2 separate regions of the Homo sapiens genome follow, and region 1 is linked to region 2. The links are contacts of gene promoters, found by promoter capture Hi-C in blood cells and fetal thymus (Javierre and others, 2016). All regions are on one chromosome and are shown on one strand. The core of a region is centred on a gene start or on the middle of the fragment in contact, and the rest is flanking DNA. Distances in the headings are between cores, read along the strand shown. Region 1 overlaps OCLN (occludin). Region 2 holds the start of CCNB1 (cyclin B1).

Region 1 (5,454 bases), core at 671-3,170, 330 kb after region 2:
GCCTGTAGTCCCAGCTACTTGGGAGGCTGAGGCAGGAGAATGGCGTGAACCCGGGAGGCGGAGCTTGCAGTGAGCCGAGATCCCGCCACTGCACTCCAGCCTGGGCGACAGAGCGAGACTCCGTCTCAAAAAAAAAAAAGAACGATTATTAAATTAGTTCTCCTCTATACTGTACTATGGAATTGACTTTTTAAAAATTCAGTTTATGGCTGGGCATGGTGGCTCATGCCTGTAATCCCAGCACTTTGGGAGGCTGAGGTGGGTGGATCACCTGAGGTCAGGAGTTTGACACCAGCTTGGTTAACATGGTGAAACCCCGTTTCTACTAAAAATGCAAAAATTAGCCTGGCCTGGTGGCATGTGCCAGTAATCTCAGCTACTCAGGAGGCTGAGGTGGGAGAATTGCTTGAACCTGGGAGGTGGAGGTTGCATTGAGCCGAGATCACGCCATTGCATTCCAGGCTGGATGACAGAGCAAGACTCCTGTCTCAAAAAAAAAAAAAATCAGTTTACATTTTAAAAATGACTCATTTATGCCACCAATATAGTCACCCTTCAGTATCTGTGAGAGGTTGCTTCCAGGACCCCCATGATACTAAAATCTGAGGATGCTGAAGTCCTTGTTATAAAATAGCTTTGTATTTGCATATGGCCTAAATGCTCTTGTATACTTTTTTTTTTAATTGTTTTTTTGAGACAGAATCTCACTCCATCATCTAGGCTGGAGTGCAGTGATGCAATTTTGGCCCACTGCAAACTCTGCCTCCTGGGCTCAAGCGATTCTCCTGCCTCAGCCTCCTGAGTAGCTGGGATTACAGGCACCCGGCACAATCCCAGTTAATTTTTGTATTTTTAGTAGAGACAGGGTTTCACCATGTTGGCCAGGCTGGTCTCGAACTCCTGACCTCAAGTGATCCGCCCGTCTTGGGCTCCCAAAGAGCTGGAATTACAGGTGTGAGCCACTGCACCCAGACCTCTTGTAGACTTTAAATAATCTCTAGTTATAATACCGTATACAATGTAAATACTATGTAGAATTGTGATATTGTAGTTTTAAAAATCTATTTTTTGTTTTATTGTTTATTATTTTTTTAGACAGGGTATTACTGTTACTCAGGCTGGAGTATAGTGGCATGATCACTCCAGCCTCAACTTCCTCTGCTCAAGAGATCCTCCCATCTCAGTCTCTTGAGTAGCTGGAACTTACAGGGATGTGCCACCATGCCTGGCTAATTTTAAGAAAAATTTTTTGTGGAGATGGGGTCTTACTATGTTGCTGTGGTCAGTCTTGGACTCCTGGGTTCAAGTGATCTTCCTGCTTCAGCTTCCTAGAGTGTTGGGATTACAGGTGTGAGCCACTGTACCTGCCCTGTAATTTTTAATTTTTTTTTCCCCTGAATATTTTCTGTCTGAGGTTGGTTGAATCAGAATTTAAAACCCATGGATGTGGAGGGTCAGCTGTATTTGAAAATGGATACAATATACCTAAGTGCCTAAGCACTGAAATTTCTTACTTTCAGGATAACCACCTTATGATGAATGCAGTTGCCCATTTTCTTGAAGACTTTTTCTTGTGGTTTTTTTCTTTCTTTTTTTTTTGAGCCGGAGTCTCGCTCCGTCGCCAGGCTGGAGTGCAGTGGCGTGACCTCAGCTCACTGCAACCTCCTCCTCCTGGATTCAAGCGATTCTCCTGCCTCAGCCTCCTGAGTAGCTGGGGCTACAGGCGCGCGCCACCAAGCCCAGCTAATTTTTGTATTTTTTTAGTAGAGACAGGGTTTCACTATGTTGACCAGGATGGTCTTGATCTCTTGACCTCGTGATCCACCCGCCTCGGCCTCCCAAAGTGCTGGGATCACAGGCGTGAACCACTGCGCCCAGCTCTTTAAGACTTTTTCTTATCCCAGTGCAGAGGTCAGGATTATTCCCGCATTTGAGTGCACTTAGAGGAGATAAGGAATTTGTCTCAGATTGCGAGCCAGTAAATGGGGGCTGTTAAAACCACTAGGTTGTTTCAAACTCATCATTCTGACATTACAGAGATCTTGCTTAGTGTTGATGGCCCTAGCCAATGGGTTAGTTATCCTTTCCAGTGTGTTTGGTCAGCTGCAAATCTGGATAAGCGTGTCTCCTCCACTTTGTCTGTGTTTACCAGTGGAGACCTCCCACCAGGTGGACATAAATGGTTCATTCTTTTGTGCTAATTGGGTGCCGTAATCCAGCCCCTTGGGAATCTGCCCACCCACACAAGGATGTGCTCAAGATTTTCAGGATTCTTTCTCTCTGCATTCCCTGAAGAGGAAATAATAAAGGAGAAAATAAAATCCACCAGTTTGGTAACCTTCCCAGAAAAGGAAATGAAGTTGGTGTGGCATGACTTGTTCTTAACGAGCTTTCTTTTCTTTTTTTTTTTTTTGAGACGGAGTTTTGCTCTTTTTGCCCAGGCTGGAGTGCAATGGCGCAATACTGGCTCACTGCGAACTCCGCCTCCCAGGTTCAAGCAATTCTGCTACCTCAGCCTCCCAAGTAGCTGGGTTTACAGGCATGCACCACCACGCCCCTCTAATTTTTTGTATTTTTAGTAGAGATAGGGTTTCACCACATTGGTCAGCTGGTCTTGAACTCCAGACCTCATGTGATCCACCTGCCTCGGCCTCCCAAAGTGCTGGGATTACAGGCATGAGCCACATGATTTGGTTCACAATTTAAAATCCGTGCTTTTGGGGAGACGTGACAACTCTGAATCCTGGAAATAGCAGTTTGAAAAGGGATCTTGTTTGAATTTTTGACAACTTAAGACTGAGTCTGGATTAATTTAGAGTTTCCAAAACTACCACTGAACCTAGAATTTGGGGATATTTGACATTCAGCTTCAGAACTAGGATCCCACATTTAATAGTGCTTAACTTCAGATTTTCTGTTTTACTTTTTTTTTTTAAAGGAGTCTTGCTCTGTCACCCACGCTGGAGTGCAGTGGCACAATCTTGGCTCACTGCAACCTCCACCTCGGGCTCAAGCGATTCTCATGCCTCAGTTTCTCAAGTAGCTGGGATTACAGGCACGTGCCACCATGCCCAGCTAATTTTTGTATTTTTAGTAGAGACGGGGTTTTGCCATGATGGCCAGGCTGGTCTCGAACTCCTGACCTAGGGTGATCCACCTGTCTCCACCTCCCAAGTGCTGGAATTACAGGTGTGAGCCACCTCACCTGGCCTAAATTCAGTATTCCTTAATGTTCTTTTTCTGAAGACAATCTGGACTTTTGCCTTTTTATAGTACCATAACATTTTCGCCTAAATTGCTCATTTGTATGTGTGTTTCACCATTACTAGAATATAGAGAAATTGGCCAGGTGTATTGGCTCATGCCTGTAATCCCAGTACTTTGGGAGGCCAAGGCAGGTGGATAGCTTGAGCTCAGGGGTTTGAGACCAGCCTGGGCAACATGGTGAAACCTTATCTCTACTAAAAATACAAAAATTAGCCAGGCGTGGTGGCATGTGCCTGTAGTCCAGCTACTTGTGAGGCTGAGGCAGGAGGATTGCTTGAGCCTGGGAGGCAGGTTGTAGTGAGCTGAGATGATGGCACTGCATTTCATCCTGGGCAACAGAATGAGACCTTGTCTCAAAAGAAAAAAAAAAAAAGTATAGAGAAATTGACTTGAGTGCTAGTTACAGGGCTGTGTACACTTATGATTTGTGCACTTTTCTCTATGGTATACTTTAAAAGTGGCTTTTAAAAATGTAGAAAAGTCATCTTCCTTCATGTCTTTGGAAAATTATGCTAATTGTGTTGGTGTTATTAACATTCTATATATTTCCATCTTTGAGGATTTATCTAATACATAGTTGGGCAGGGTTTAATTCTGAGAGATTTGAAATACACTGTCCTAAAGGGTATAGAAGAGAGTTGCCAGGTGGGGCGTGGTGGCTCATGCCTGTAATCCCAGCACTTTGGGAGGCCAAGGAGGGCAGATTGCCTGAGCTCAGGAGTTTGACACCAGACTGTGCAACATGGTGAAACCCCATCTTTACTAAAAATACAAACAATTAGCCGGGCGTGGCAGCGTGCGCCTGTAGTCCCAGCTACTCGGGAGGCTGAGGCAGGAGAATCGCTTGAAGCCGGGAGGCGGAGATTGCAGTGAGCTGAGATCATGCCATTGCATTCCATCCTGGTGACAGAGCGAGACTCGGCTCAAAAAAAAAAAAAAGAGTTGCCATTAATTTAAAAAAAAGTTTTAAGAGTCTGAATTGATGTACTGTTGTTAATATATTAATGTATGATTGTACAGACCGTATTAGAAAAGGAAAAAAAATCAGATACTTTAATGTACTCATTATAGATGTTACTCAAGTGTCATTCAGGGATCATACCTTTTAAAGTTACTCTGATACTTTTCCGTTACCTTCAACTTGAAAGCACAAGAGGTTTTGCAGGCAGAGATATCCATGGTCCAATCTGGTTCCTGTAAACATTCAACAAATTATCTGGACGTCTACTATGTGCCAGGCATTGATTTAATCAGTGAACAAAACATGCAAAAATTCCTGCTCACATGGAATTTACCTTCCAGTAGATCTCAAAGTTCCCTACTCTACTAATCACTGGTATAACCTGGAAAGAATTTATTGTTGGTTCAACATAGCTAAGGAGTGGCATGAAGTTCTGTAGCTGATGTGGGAAGTACCTTGCCAGTGTCTCCAGCACTGGGTTTTCTAGAATAATCCTCAAGCTTTATAGGTTAGGGGGTTGTGTGTTTACCACATCTTGCTGAGACTTGTCTTTTTCCTGGAGAGCTCTCAGTGCCCATGGATCCACCTACGGACGTAGGCAGATGACCTCCATCTTCACTTCCTCATGGATGCTAACACCAGATGTGCACTCCCCACAAAAACTGGTGTTTCCCAAATGGAACTCATTGTTTCAAACTAGCATAGTGAAAAGCACATGAAATCATCTGGGTTCAAGTTACATCTGAGTGACTCACTGACATCCATATAACCTTGAGCATATTACTTCACATCTCTTTCTGACCCTCTTTGCATCTGTAAAGTGACTAATCAACCATGGAGGGTCGTTTTGAGGATGAAAGGAGGTTTTATGTAAAGCACCCAGCACGTCGGTAGGTGTCTGATGAATGTTAGTTTCCTTCCTATCTTCTGTCTCCTAAGCTAGTCCTTCATTGTTGCCTCACACCTAGGTTTGCTGCTGCTGACTGTAGGTGCTCCTTTTTACTGTTGACTTTGTCTTTCAAATCTGGTTCAAATCAAACTTACACCTCCCTTGCCGAGAATCACGAACTGGCTCCCTGTTTCCTACCTGAAGGAAGTGAGACACTCCCACTAGACTTTCAAAGCCCTCCCTTTTCTTACTCATCCTCCATCCACTATATTCTTACTGTAACCTTATTTTAAAAGATGACACCATTCCACCATGCTCCCACTTCACTGTTCCATAA
Region 2 (5,265 bases), core at 1,020-3,519:
CACTCCAGCCTGGGCAACAAAGCAAGACTCCGTCTCAAAAAACAAACAAACAAACGAAAAACAAAAACAACTTACGTCCACTCAAAAATCTGCACACAGATGTTAGTAGCAGTTATATTCATACCAAAACTTGGACGCAATCAAGATGTCACTTAGTAGGTGACTGAATAAATAAACTAGTACATCCAGACAATGCAATATTATTCAGGGCTAAAATAAAATGAGATCCCAACCCATGAAAAAAACATGGAAGAACCTTAAATGCATATTTGAGTAAAAGAAACCATTCTGACCGCCAGGTGCAGTGGCTCACGCCTTCAATACCAGCACTTTGGGAGGTTGAGGCGGGTGGACATTATACGTCATTATATATTTGTCAAAACCCGTAGAAGACACAACACCTAGAGTGAACCTTAATGTAAACTATGGACTTTGGGTAATACTGTGGTGTCAATGTAGGTTAACAGATTATAATTAAAGTACAACTTTAATGTGGGGTGTCAATAGTGGGGAAGGCAGGTGAAATGCTCTATACTTTCTGCTAAGTTTTGCTGCGAACCTAAAACTGCTCTAAAAAATAAAGCATATAAAAGGAAAAATTTGGCCGGGCGTGGTGGCTCACGCCTGTAATCGCAGCACTTTGGGAGGCCGAGGCGGGCGGATCACCAAGTCAGGAGATCGAGACCATCCTGGCTAACATGGTGAAACCCCGTCTCTACCAAAAATACAAAAAATTAGCCGGCCGTTGTGGCGGGCGCCTGCCGTCCCAGCTACTCGGGAGGCTGAGGCAGGAGAATGGAGTGAACCCTGGAGGTGGAGGTTGCAGTGAGTCGAGATCGCACCACTGCACTCCAGCCTGGGCGACAGATCGAGACTCCGTCTCAAAAAAAAGTAAAAAAAAAAATTTTTAAACTGGAACACAGAGGATAAGTAATCCTGCTTCGCCCCTTGCCTCTCGCCCCTGCATGGGGCGAGGAAGGATTGATCAAACCCAGAAAGACTGAGTGAGAATGGATGTTGAACACAGAACTGAAGGATGAATGGGAGTTACCTGAATAGAACCCAGGGGCTTGAATGCAAGAAGAGGCGGGCATTCCAGGCAGAGGAGAGCAAGGGTAAGGGCCCCACGGGAGGCATTCGAGTAGGAGGGTGAACTATGATGACAGAAGACTCAATAACGATCCAAAGAAACCAAATGATTGGGCGCCTTCTTTCGGATCCGTGACTTCCAGCGCCAGGAGTCTCTATTGGCTCTTATACCGTTGCTCTATGGGATAGCAATGTTTTTGTCCTTCAGCCTCCCCTCCAATTGCTGAGCTGCTGGTGTGTTTTGAGGAGTAGAAGGCAAAAAGAACCCTCTTGTTTTTCTTTGGATCTAGAGAGAATCTGAGCAAATGACAAAGCAAATGGGGTAAAATGTCTTTTTGTTTAGTTTTTCCTGATTTTCCCATGAGAGGCAAATACATGTTAAGGATAGTTGAATCTGAGTAAAGGGCATAGAAATATTCCTTACAAGATTTTTGTTGGCAACTGGTCTAAGTATGAAATTATTTCCAAATAGAAAGCTAAAACAAACAAAACAATTGGCCTTGGGAAACTGGACAATCTTGAAGTAATCAAGTAATATTGTTAAGGGACAATCAGTGTTGTGAAAACAACACGGATACACCCCCTCCCTCCCCCTCAAAAAAAAAAACCCTAAATTCAGTTCCCCCGTTGCTAATGTGTGACCCTGGCAAAGTCATCTAAGTCGCTGAGCTTCAGTTCCTCCAACCCAGAGAGTTGTTGCAACGATCAAATGAAAGAATGTCTATTAAAGCCTTTCATGAACTATATTATTGCTGCTACCGTAGAAATGGAAAGTGTGCAACACTAGATCCAAAACTACTTTTGACACTTCTGAGACTGTGGCCGCGCCTCTGTCACCTTCCAAAGGCCACTAGGCCTTTCCTGAGCTGGCATTGGCAACGCACACTCTTGCCCGGCTAACCTTTCCAGGTGGGCGGCGCACTGGCTTCACTGCTCTCCAGGTGGCCGCTGCAGCTGCCCGAGAGCGCAGGCGCAGAGGCAGACCACGTGAGAGCCTGGCCAGGCCTTCCGGCCTAGCCTCACTGTGGCCCCGCCCCTCTCGAACGCCTTCGCGCGATCGCCCTGGAAACGCATTCTCTGCGACCGGCAGCCGCCAATGGGAAGGGAGTGAGTGCCACGAACAGGCCAATAAGGAGGGAGCAGTGCGGGGTTTAAATCTGAGGCTAGGCTGGCTCTTCTCGGCGTGCTGCGGCGGAACGGCTGTTGGTTTCTGCTGGGTGTAGGTCCTTGGCTGGTCGGGCCTCCGGTGTTCTGCTTCTCCCCGCTGAGCTGCTGCCTGGTGAAGAGGAAGCCATGGCGCTCCGAGTCACCAGGGTGAGCCGCTTCGGACTGCGAACTAACGCGGCCTTCTTAGCTGCTGCCTGCTCTCCCTGCCTCGCCTGCGGGAGCCTCCCGAGCGGGAGAGGGCCGCAGGAGCGATTTGGGGAGGAAGGTGGGAGGGGACTCACCAAGAGAGCGCCGAGGTGGGCCCAGGCCTGGTGAGAGAGTGTGGGGGACGATGGATGGAGGGAGGAAGGTGAGAAAGAGAACTGGACGGATATTGGATAAATGTTTTGGGGAGGTGGAGAGTCGACTGGGAACCTTTTGAAAAAGTGATAGAGGGTCCCTGAGTGGGCCCGCCAGCAACTCTGTAACCCCCTTCCCAGAGAGAAGGTGTCTGCAATTGGAGGCTTTTTCGGTTTCCTTTCAAATGTAAATTCTCGGTATTTTAGGGCTGGCCAGGACTAATCAGGGAATCCCTCAATTGGTAAATGTAGAGGTCGGCGGAAACTGACTTGTCACGGCCGCAGAGTAGACTCTGGGACCCATGTTTTCCCTCGGAACCCATTTTTAGTCGGCTTTCTTTCTGGGAACTTCTCCTTGTGCCCCACCTTAATTAACCCTTGACTTACTCGAGCCTTCGTGGATCAGCTCTTAAAGTGGTCTTGCTTCTTTCAGAACTCGAAAATTAATGCTGAAAATAAGGCGAAGATCAACATGGCAGGCGCAAAGCGCGTTCCTACGGCCCCTGCTGCAACCTCCAAGCCCGGACTGAGGCCAAGAACAGCTCTTGGGGACATTGGTAACAAAGTCAGTGAACAACTGCAGGCCAAAATGCCTATGAAGAAGGTAACTCTCTTCCTGACCTAACTTCTGTAAGAGCCCGCCTTCCAACTGTGGCCTTTGATGCAGAAACATTTCATTCTCTCTGTTTCATCTACAGGAAGCAAAACCTTCAGCTACTGGAAAAGTCATTGATAAAAAACTACCAAAACCTCTTGAAAAGGTACCTATGCTGGTGCCAGTGCCAGTGTCTGAGCCAGTGCCAGAGCCAGAACCTGAGCCAGAACCTGAGCCTGTTAAAGAAGAAAAACTTTCGCCTGAGCCTATTTTGGTAAACTTATTCTTACCATTGTAGAGTCTGTTGATTATTTCTTGTCCCTTATTTCACTGATACATGCAAGAGCATTCAAATGAATAGTAATATTAATACCATTTATTGAGTGCTTAGCATGAGGCAAGCTCTGCCTAACATTTTACATGCATTAACTCACATAATCTTTACACGTACTCTCTGAGGTATTGTCACCTCTACTATTTAAATCATGGCTTTAGAGAGGTTATGTCAGGGTCACACAGGTAAGTGGCCCATATGGGATTCAAGCTCAGGCTGTCTGGCTTCAGAATCTATGCTTTTAATTGTCAACTGTCTTATATTCCTTCGTTAATGATATTAAGTAGTAGCTGTCTGAGCCAAAGGCTTTGTTATCCAACTACAAGCCATCTCTGCAGAATTTATTGGCGTAAACATAGAATGTTCTCTTGAATTTTTTTACTGCTGCATATGGCTACTAAATAATAAGCCTGTAACATTGGAATATGCAAAGGAGTAAAACAGGAAGAAGGCAACTTTTCAGGGAGTGGTTAAGAAGATGAATTAACACTTAGCCTCAAAAATAATAACTTTTTATTAAATATAAGGTATGTAAATGTATTCTATGATAGACCTACCTGTGAAGGAAAGGTAGGTCATGTAGAGGAGGCTGCTTTGATGAAATTGCAATGAACTGTATTCTGAAGCTCTGTTTTTTTAAACTTAGTTAAAACCAGTTGGGAAAATTATCTGAAAAAAACTTGTTGAGACAGAGTCTGGCTCTGTTGCCCAGGCTGGAGTGCAGTGGCGTGATCTTGGCTCACTGCAACCTCTGCCTCCCAGGTTCAAGCAATTTTCCTGCCTCAGCCTCCCTAGTAGCTGGGATTACAGACGCACGCCACCACGCCCAGCTAATTTTCATATTTTTAGTATAGATGGGGTTTCACCATGTTAGTGTACTCCTGACCTCATGATCCGCCCGCCTCGGCCTCCGAAAGTGCTGGGATTACAGGCGTTAGCCACGGCGCCCAGCCAGTTCAGCTTCTTATATCTAAGGATAAGAGATTGAAAGCTATTGCTTTAGTGTTGAATTTCTGGGCATAGCACATGAAATATGTAGCCAGCACAGTCTTTGGGCATATCAAACTACGTGAGGCTTTCTTGGAAGGCCCATACTGATTCTTACCTTTGCTTTCCCACTTAGTAAGAATGCCTTCCCCACCCTGTCTTTCATTTAGCTAATAACCTTTTCATCCTTGAAAACAGCTCAAGCATCAACTCCTGAAGCTTTCCCAAACTTCCCCCATCTCCACCCCCTGTTCCTAGAATCAGTCTTTTTTTTCCCTTTGAGACAGAGTCTCACTCTGTTGCCCAGACTGGAGTGCAGTGGTGCCATCTTGGCTCACCACAACCTCTGCCTCCCGAGTTCAGTGATTCTCCTGCTTCAGCCTCCCAAGTAGCTGGGGCTACAGGCACATGCCACCATGCTTGGCTAATTTTTGTATTTTTAGTAGAGACGGGGTTTCACTATGTTGGCCAGGCTGGTCTCGAACTCTTGATCTCGTGATCCACCCGCCTCAGCCTCCCAAAGTGCTGGGATTACAGGTGTGAGCCACCATGCCCAGCCTTAGTCTTATTTTTGTTTATTTTTTTTTTCCCAAGACAGAGTCTTGCTCTGTCACCCAGGCTGGAGCACAATGGCACGATCTTGGCTCACTGCAACCTCTACCTCCTGGGTTCAAGCAATTCTCTTGCCTCAGCCTCCTGAGTAGCTGGGATTACAGGTGCCAGCCACCACACCCAGCTAATTTTTTTATTATTTT

What was found. The method cuts DNA at HindIII sites, captures the fragments that hold promoters and counts their contacts. A CHiCAGO score of 5 or more calls a contact.
Region 1: a fragment that was not itself captured here is called in contact with the fragment with the promoter of CCNB1 in region 2 in 3 of 17 cell types (neutrophils, erythroblasts and M2 macrophages); the score reaches 6.9 in neutrophils.

What each region holds. Positions count from the first base shown.
Region 1 is chr5:69,498,005-69,503,458 of GRCh38, forward strand. The region is part of intron 1 of OCLN (occludin); the gene reads left to right. Among named protein-coding and RNA genes, the nearest start is that of OCLN, 7.9 kb to the left of the region's middle. RefSeq lists an enhancer at 1,778-2,327. The HindIII fragment of the contact is 5,611 bases long and covers 1-4,726 here.
Region 2 is chr5:69,164,881-69,170,145 of GRCh38, forward strand. It overlaps CCNB1 (cyclin B1), which reads left to right and starts at 2,270. Exons shown (of 9, transcript NM_031966.4): 1 at 2,270-2,403; 2 at 3,028-3,198; 3 at 3,293-3,463. The coding sequence starts at 2,383. RefSeq lists enhancers at 1,950-2,915, 2,296-2,525. The HindIII fragment of the contact is 10,262 bases long and covers 1-4,727 here.